Regions from separate parts of the Homo sapiens genome. Here region 2 is linked to region 1. The links are contacts of gene promoters, found by promoter capture Hi-C in blood cells and fetal thymus (Javierre and others, 2016). All regions are on one chromosome and are shown on one strand. Each heading gives the region's core, a stretch centred on a gene start or on the middle of the fragment in contact. The rest is flanking DNA. Distances are from core to core; before and after follow the strand shown.

Region 1 (3,693 bases), core at 827-3,326:
AAAAGAAACAAACAAACAAAGAAAAAGGAGATATGAGTATCATGGGCCACCAATTAGTTGGATGGTGTGTTAGTGCCATGTTGGGAGCACAGCCTAGGGTGTGAGAAGGAAGCACTGCTCTGTGGAATTCTGGAGATATGGTTGTTAGGATGAAGGGTGCAAGGTAAGGGCTGTATTCCCTCTGATTTCCTCAGGTTATCTCACCTATGGGAGAAGGAAGAACAGAGAGAGGCAGAGAACATCATCGCAAACGGAGCCCCTGTTACAAGTACTCAGAGACCTCCTCACGATTTAATGAAGAGCTTGTGTAATCTGTGTAATGTGCCTCTCACTGAGCTATAATTCCTCTGGGAAAGAACTCCCACTGCCTTGCTCACTGCTGTATCTCCAGAATTTAGTACCATCCCTGGCACATAGCAGGCACTGTTGACTGACACAGAGTTGCAGATTGAAAAGCAGAAGCAGAGGCACCTTAAGGGGTGGAGACCATCTAGGTCAGCTCAGCTAACCCAGGCCCTTCCAGCCTGAGAGCCTGGTGTTCTCAGCCACCAGGGAACTCTGGCAGGGTGGGAGAGAGTGGGCTGCACCCGCTCATCCGGGAGCCACCTAAACTGAGGTGGTGGGTGCCCTCTGGCTGCTGCTGCCTCTGGGAGCCTAGATGGGGAGGAGAATTAGGAACCTGAAGGGGGAGGGGCAGTGAAGAAGCCATCATCGCAGATACAGCTAAAAATAGCTGGAAGAGATGATGTCATCTGGTTCCCACAGCTTAGCACCCCCATCATACACACACTCGAGCACAAACACACACTCTCACAGACACAGATACACACAGACACAAGTGTGGGCATGAGTGCATGCACACACACATACTACACACTCATATAGGGGAGGGAGGCTTCTGGGTCCCAGGGCCGCAGGGGCAGGGAAGTCTGGTGAGTGTGTCTGCATGCGTGTATGTCTGTGTGTGCCTGGGTTTGCATGAGTGTGAAGGCATGTGTCTGCATCTGGGTGCTTGTGTGCTTGTGTCTGGGTGCATGCATGTTTCTGTCTGTGTTCATTTAGAGGCATGCGTATGTGTTGTTACATATATCGTGTGGGGATCTATGCATTTGTGTCTGCGTATATCTGCTTATAGTATGTGCTTGCATGCATGTGTGTGGTTGTTGCAGTATGTGTCTATGAGTTCACTTATATTTACATGTCTGCATGTGTTTGTGAACTGTGTCATGTATCTTTATATGTATGGCCCCTCTTGGGCCCTTGAGCATGGCCCAAGCACCTTCTAGCTTTGACTGATGTTCAGCAACCCCCATCCCATAACCTGAGGAGCCCAGCACCGTCTGGGCATGGTGTGTCAGTGAATTCTCTGCCTCAACCCCCCTCAGGGTCCCAGTCTCTGGCAAGAGTTGGGGTAGATAGACATAAGCACAATTCACTTTCCCTTCACAGGCAGCAAAGGACATTAGCCACACTTCCTGAACCCCAGGGGGCCAGGCCACCAAAGGTCTCAGGGTTCACTCCCTTCCCTAGCCCCTTGGGAAGGTAGCCTGGAAATGCAGCCAGATCTCGGACCGGTGCAACACGTATTAGCCCATGCATGATGCAACATATTCGAGACAGAGTCCTACAAAATGTTCCCAGCGACTAAGACACAACCCCACAGAAACCCGGTTACAGCCAGTGACACATGAGCACACACTCAGAAATCCAAATGGAAAATCCCCAGGCCAGAGAGCTTAGCACCCTCCCTACTTTCTGGGCTCAAACTCAGTCTTGCCCCACCCCTAAGCACCCCAGCTCAGCTGCCAGTTCTGGAAAACACTGACCTCAGAGAATGGTTGAAGGGCCGAAGGTAGTATGCCTTTCTCAGAATCTCACCCTTCTCCATGTTCTCCTCCTTTAGGCTGTTCCCCATCCCCCTCCTGACCTTCACTTTTCTTACCAGGGCTGATGTCCTCTCCGGCACACCCATACCCTCACAAACGCTCCTTGACACTCACAGTCAGTCACAGAGGCACATTAAATCACAAAGGCACATTCAGCCACATCTACTGATACTCCTATTCTCCCGGCCTCAGACACACACACCAGCAGCTACACCTACACGCTGACCATCACAGGCACACAGAGGCACATCCACCTCACATCCACCTCATACTTGTGTACTCTCAGGGTTCAGTCTTTCATCCTATCCCTCTCTGATCTGTGCCTCCCAATACCTTCCAAGATGTTTACAGAGACCCTTCTCCCTGTGCAGTTAGGAGTGTAAGGCAAGAGAGCCCCTACTTCATGGGGCAGATCAAGAGCTGAGACCAAAGATGGTCTATGTTGCTGACCTTGTCCTGTCCTCCTGCTGTCTTAAACTATGATCCCTGCTGCGGTCACTGAAGCCTTTCCCTGTAAGTATTCAGCCATAACCCTCCCCTCACGCCCTGCATAGTCAGCTGGTTAACACCTCTGTGTGGAATAAGGCAGTTTGAGCAGAATGACTGTATTTGTTGTTCACCACCCACACGGCCCCTAGGAGATGCAGGTCCAGGGCAAACCAAGCTTCTGGGCTAGCTTCTGGGCACTTCTAGAGGATCAGAAAAATCCCAGGTTGCCTGAGATGTCTGAGAACTGAGGAGAGGAAGGAGAGGGAAGAGTTTGAGGAAGGAAGCAGTTCTGGAAGTTCCCTGCCTCTTGGATTCAGCCCCTCCCCAAACCCTCTGCTTCCAGCCAATCCATCCTCCATTAAGGCTGTCAGCACTTTGGGGTGCCTGCCATCAGGAGTCCCCCATATATGTAGGGGTGCTATTTCACAGAGATCATCCTTTGGCGTGCCTAAACAGAACCAGGTAGGGAAATCTTCACTGGCTCTGGTTTTTTTTTTTTTTTCTTGAGACAGAGTCTAGCTCTGTCACCCAGGCTGGAGTGCAGTGGCGCGATCTTGGCTCACTGCAACCTCTGCCTCCCGGGTTCAAGCAATTCTCCTGCCTCAGCCTCCCAAGTAGCTGGGACTAAAGGCGTGTGCCACCACGCCCGGCTAATTTTTTTTTGTATTTTTAGTAGAGATGGGATTTCACCGTGTTAGCCAGGATGGTCTCGATCTCCTGACCTTGTGATCTGCCCGCCTTGGCCTCCCAAAGTGCCGGGATTACAGGCATGAGCCACCGCACCCAGCCTAGTGGCTCTGTTTTTTAAAACCCCACCCTGGCTCACAGGCCCCCTGGCTAACCTTGAGGTGGGAAGATCCACACTATGGTGGTGTCAGTGTGGGTGTTGTTGATACCCATGGCCCTGGTGGCAGGATTGATGGCTGCACTGCTGGCAGTTCGACCTCGGAGACCCTGTTGATATCTTCTGCGGCTACACTTGAACATCCTGGGAAATCGGGGCCTGGGCCAGCCCATACCTGGCCTGCGGTAGGGGGAACGCATGCCCTGGGGCCGAGGGCCACGGACAAGCCGAGATGGCCCCATGGGCACAGGGAGCTTCTGCAGTGTGCCTGGGGGGTGCTGTTGGCCAGGGTAGCTGAGGCCTCTATGACATACAAAGTCTGCATAAGGGCAGGGCCCTTTATTACAAGTCGTGGGCCCTGGCCCCTCCTCATGGGTCAGGCTCCTTCACAATCTTCTTTATTGGGTCTGGCCTAAAAGCCAGCCCAAGAGCCAGACAGCCTCAGTTTGGCCCCTTGGGAAAAGAGGCCCTAGA
Region 2 (3,826 bases), core at 916-3,415, 260 kb before region 1:
GAAGGCTTCCTCTTCAGGGTGACTTTTCCAAGAGCAGCTCAGGCTTATTTAATGAAGAAGTGCCAAGTGAATTCATCAGTAAATTAGAGAACCAGTGAAAGAAGAGACCTAGAATTCATTTCACCTCAATTATCTGTCTTGAACTGCCTTTGTTTAACCCACAGGGCTAAGGGAGTGTACTTCAGATTTTCTTCCTGAGTCAAACTGCTTGCCCTGAGACAGACAGGCTTCTTCAGTGGGCTTCCTTTGTGATGTTGCCCTTCAGTGTCTGTGGATGCTTATTGATTGAATTAATGATTCTATTAGACCTTAAGAAACAGGATTTGTTTGAAGTATATAGTTGTAGTATTGACACACTTTAAAAAAAACCTTTTATTACCATACTGACACAGAAGTAAAAGACCATTTAAAAACAGACTTCATCAACTAATGTGTTATTTAAAGTAAAGGTCACTTGTTAACAAAATTAAAAATTTTTAAATGGAGTTTGTAGCTTAAGAAAACTTAAATGGTCAAAAATCATGGTTCTGTTTTTGTTTTTGAGAGTGTCTTACTTTATGGCCCAGGCGGGAGGGCAGTGGTGCTATCACAGCTCACTAAACCTTGACCTCCTGGGCCCAAGGGATCCTTCCACCTCAGCAGCTGGGACCACAGGCATGCACCACCAAGCCTGGCTAATTTTTTAATTTTTTTGTAGAAATAAGGTCTCTCTATGTTGCTCAGGCTGGTCTGGAACTCCTGAGCTCAAGTGATCCTCTTGCCTCAGCCTCTTAGAGTGCTGAGATTACCATACCTGGCAAATCATGCTCTTCAAATGTGGGTACACTGCTGTTGGTAATCATTTTCTCTGTTTTACTGACTTTGAGTTAGAAAAATACCCCCTGAGGAGCTAATAAGTAGTTTGTATATCACCTTTTCCTGTTTCAAACAATCCTTTTTAGACTCTAGACCCATTGTATAACCAGTTTGCAGAGTAGTAATTAGGGGCAAAAAGAAAATGAAATTTGCCGGCCAGGCGCGGTGGCTTACGCCAGTAATCCCAGCACTTTGGGAGGCCGAGGCGGGCGGATCACGAGGTCAGGAGATCGAGACCATCCTGGCTAACACGGTGAAACTCTGTCTCTACTGAAAATACAAAAAATTAGCCGGACGTGGTGGCGGGCGCCTGTAATCCCAGCTACTCGGGAGGCTGAGGCAGGAGAATGGCGTGAACCTGGGAGGCGGAACTTGCAGTGAGCCGAGATGGCGCCACTGTACTCCAGCCTGGGTGACAGAGTGAGACTCTGTCTCAAAAAAAAAAAAAAAGGAAAGAAAATGAAGTTTGGCTTTCATAGATTTTTATAATTTCAATTATATATTGAACAAAATGTCTAAACCTCATTTTATGTGATAAGACTTAAGGCTTCAAAATTTTGTACAAGCATATTATTCAGGTTAACAAGTAAGTGCTGTCTAATGTTCTAATTAGTTCTAACATATATATGAAGGAGCTTAACTTTGAAATAGTTCTTTGGAAGAGTGAAAATTCTTTTTGAAAATGAGAAATTAACTTAAAATTAACATTTTTACTTCTTTTAACTTTAAAAAAATGTTGAGTTTGTGGAAATGTGGGCATAACTGTAATTTTAAATAGTTGTGTGCCCTCCTATTTTCTATCCTGTTACTACCCCATATTGTGTACCCACCTGAGAAGTAAACTGAAGACCACTAGAGTGATAATGACTAGGAAAGTGAAGATTTCCTTTGAATATATGTAAGCAAGCACAAGTAGAATGTCACTGTATCCATATTATAAACAGTCAGAAATAACAATACGAGAAACTAACAATGTTATCATTTTGAATTAGATCAGGTACTTATGTGATACTTAAGTAATTTTTTTACCTTGGAAATTAAATAATGGTGTGTGTATAGAAAGCCATGCCAATAAGGTAGCAAATTAAATATTATGAATATTATTTTTATCATGTGTCGTTTCTACTAATGGTAGCAAATTAGAAATCTATTTATTACCTGTTTTCAATCTAATGATCTTATTTATTTAATAATCTTCGATAGGACTTAACATATCAAAATGGCTAGATTGTTTTTATGGGAAAAAATAACCTGGGAATCTAAAATTTAAGTAGAAGCAAAATACATAGTTAACTGACATTATATGATACATTCATTAGAGAAATGTTAGCTAAACAAATTGGTATTATTGTTGATATAATCAATAATTTATAAACTATTCAGAATGTTTTACTCTTAGGGACATATACATTTCTTTAGGAAGTTTTAGTCATTGAATATTAAATATTAACTGTTGCCTGCTAATTGATGTAGTAAATTTGCAGTGTTTGGTTTGCCCAGAAACCAATTCTAAATACTTCAGGCTGGGCACGGTGGCTTACATCTGTAATCCCAGCACTTTTAGGAGGCCGAGGCGGGTGGATCACTCGAGGTCAGGAGTTCGAGACCAGACTGACCAACATGATGAAACCCTGTTTGTACTAAAAATACAAAATTAGCTGGGTGTGGTGGTGCATGCCTGTAATCCCAGCTACTTGGGAGGCTGAGGCAGGAGAATCGCTTGAACCCAGGAGGCAGAGGTTGCAGTGAGCCAAGATCGTGCCATTGCACTCTAGCCTGGGCAACAAGAGCAAAACTCTGTCTCAAAAAATAAAAATAAAAATAAATAACAAATATGTTGAATAGCCAAATCTTAAATGTTGTATTTTAATTTTATGGATTAAGTTTTTGTCTCTGTTGTCATCCTGTACCAACATTGGTACTGAAGTATGATATTGGAGAATGATTTTTGACCACTTACTTTTCTTGAGCTTTTTGCCTAAACCAAGCCACTTTGAATATGTTTCTTTTTGGTTGAAAAGTTATCACTGACCTTGTTTTTTTCCTATTGTGGTACCTTGTCAGAATCTCTACCCTTTGCCGAGGAGCTGAAGTAAACCAGCACATGTTTTCACCCACATCTGCTCCAGCCCTCTTCCTCACTAAAGTCCCATTTAGTGCTGATTGTGCTTTGGCTACTTCTCCTCTTGCCATTTTCCTGAACCCACGAGCCCACAGCAGTCCTGGCACTCCTTGTTCCAGCCGCCCACTGCCGTGGAGGTAAGGAAACTTGCTGTGAATCTGGGCCTTGACAATTGCTTCTGGCCAAATGGTAAAACGCATACCTTACTCCTTAATAATGGGGAGAAATGGAGTAAGAGTCTTGGTTCTGTCACAGAGAAGAGTAAAATAAATATCACAGATTTCTGTTGTATTCAAAATGTCAGGAGAAAGGAGGGTAGGTTATCAGTACTTGGATTTTTGAGGCTATTATAAGTTGTGTGCCCATCCTGACCATTGGACAGCCTTGTGAACTATGACCTGTGACCACCCCATAGCATGGCAGAGTGCTAGAACTCTTAGGAGGTAAAAAAGTTCAAACCTCACATTTTACACGATGGGAAAATTTGAGTCCAAAACAAGTTAAATGGTTTGTTCAGGTTGAGGAAAATAGCCCTTCTCCCATTTCTTTCTGTCTTCCTTTTCTTATATTCAACATTATTTGATTACGTACTATCTGCTAGGACACTGTTTTGGGCATGGGAAACAAAGCAGTGAACATAAAGCAATAAAATCCCTGTCCTCAGGGAGCTTAGATTCTAGTGGAGAAAGAGAGACAAGTTAATGAGTAAATATGTAACATAACGGATAGACAGTGCTTCTGAGAAAAATAAAGTAGGATAAGAGAATGTAGAGGCCAGGGCTTGACATTTTATATAAGGTGGTCAGGTAGGTCCTCAGTGGTAAGTTGACATAAAAGACCTGAAGGAAG

The links. Contacts are between HindIII fragments. The CHiCAGO score rates a contact against its expected background, and 5 or more counts as called.
Region 2: a contact is called between a fragment that was not itself captured here and the fragment with the promoter of TSPAN1 in region 1, in 2 of 17 cell types (erythroblasts and M1 macrophages). The highest score is 5.4, in erythroblasts.

The regions. Positions count from the first base shown.
Region 1 is chr1:46,173,011-46,176,703 of GRCh38, forward strand. TSPAN1 (tetraspanin 1) reads left to right here and starts at 2,077. Exons shown (of 9, transcript NM_005727.4): 1 at 2,077-2,399. It overlaps P3R3URF-PIK3R3 (P3R3URF-PIK3R3 readthrough), which reads right to left and starts at 3,478. Exons shown (of 10, transcript NM_001303427.2): 1 at 3,218-3,478. The coding sequence starts at 3,461. P3R3URF (PIK3R3 upstream open reading frame) reads right to left here and starts at 3,478. Exons shown (of 2, transcript NM_001328655.2): 1 at 3,218-3,478; 2 at 2,476-2,619. The coding sequence starts at 3,461. The coding sequence ends at 2,576. It also overlaps a transcript of PIK3R3 not described here. The HindIII fragment of the contact is 4,826 bases long and covers 1-2,548 here.
Region 2 is chr1:45,914,420-45,918,245 of GRCh38, forward strand. All of the region lies in intron 4 of MAST2 (microtubule associated serine/threonine kinase 2), which reads left to right. Among named protein-coding and RNA genes, the nearest start is that of MAST2, 110 kb to the left of the region's middle. The HindIII fragment of the contact is 5,716 bases long and covers 1-3,826 here.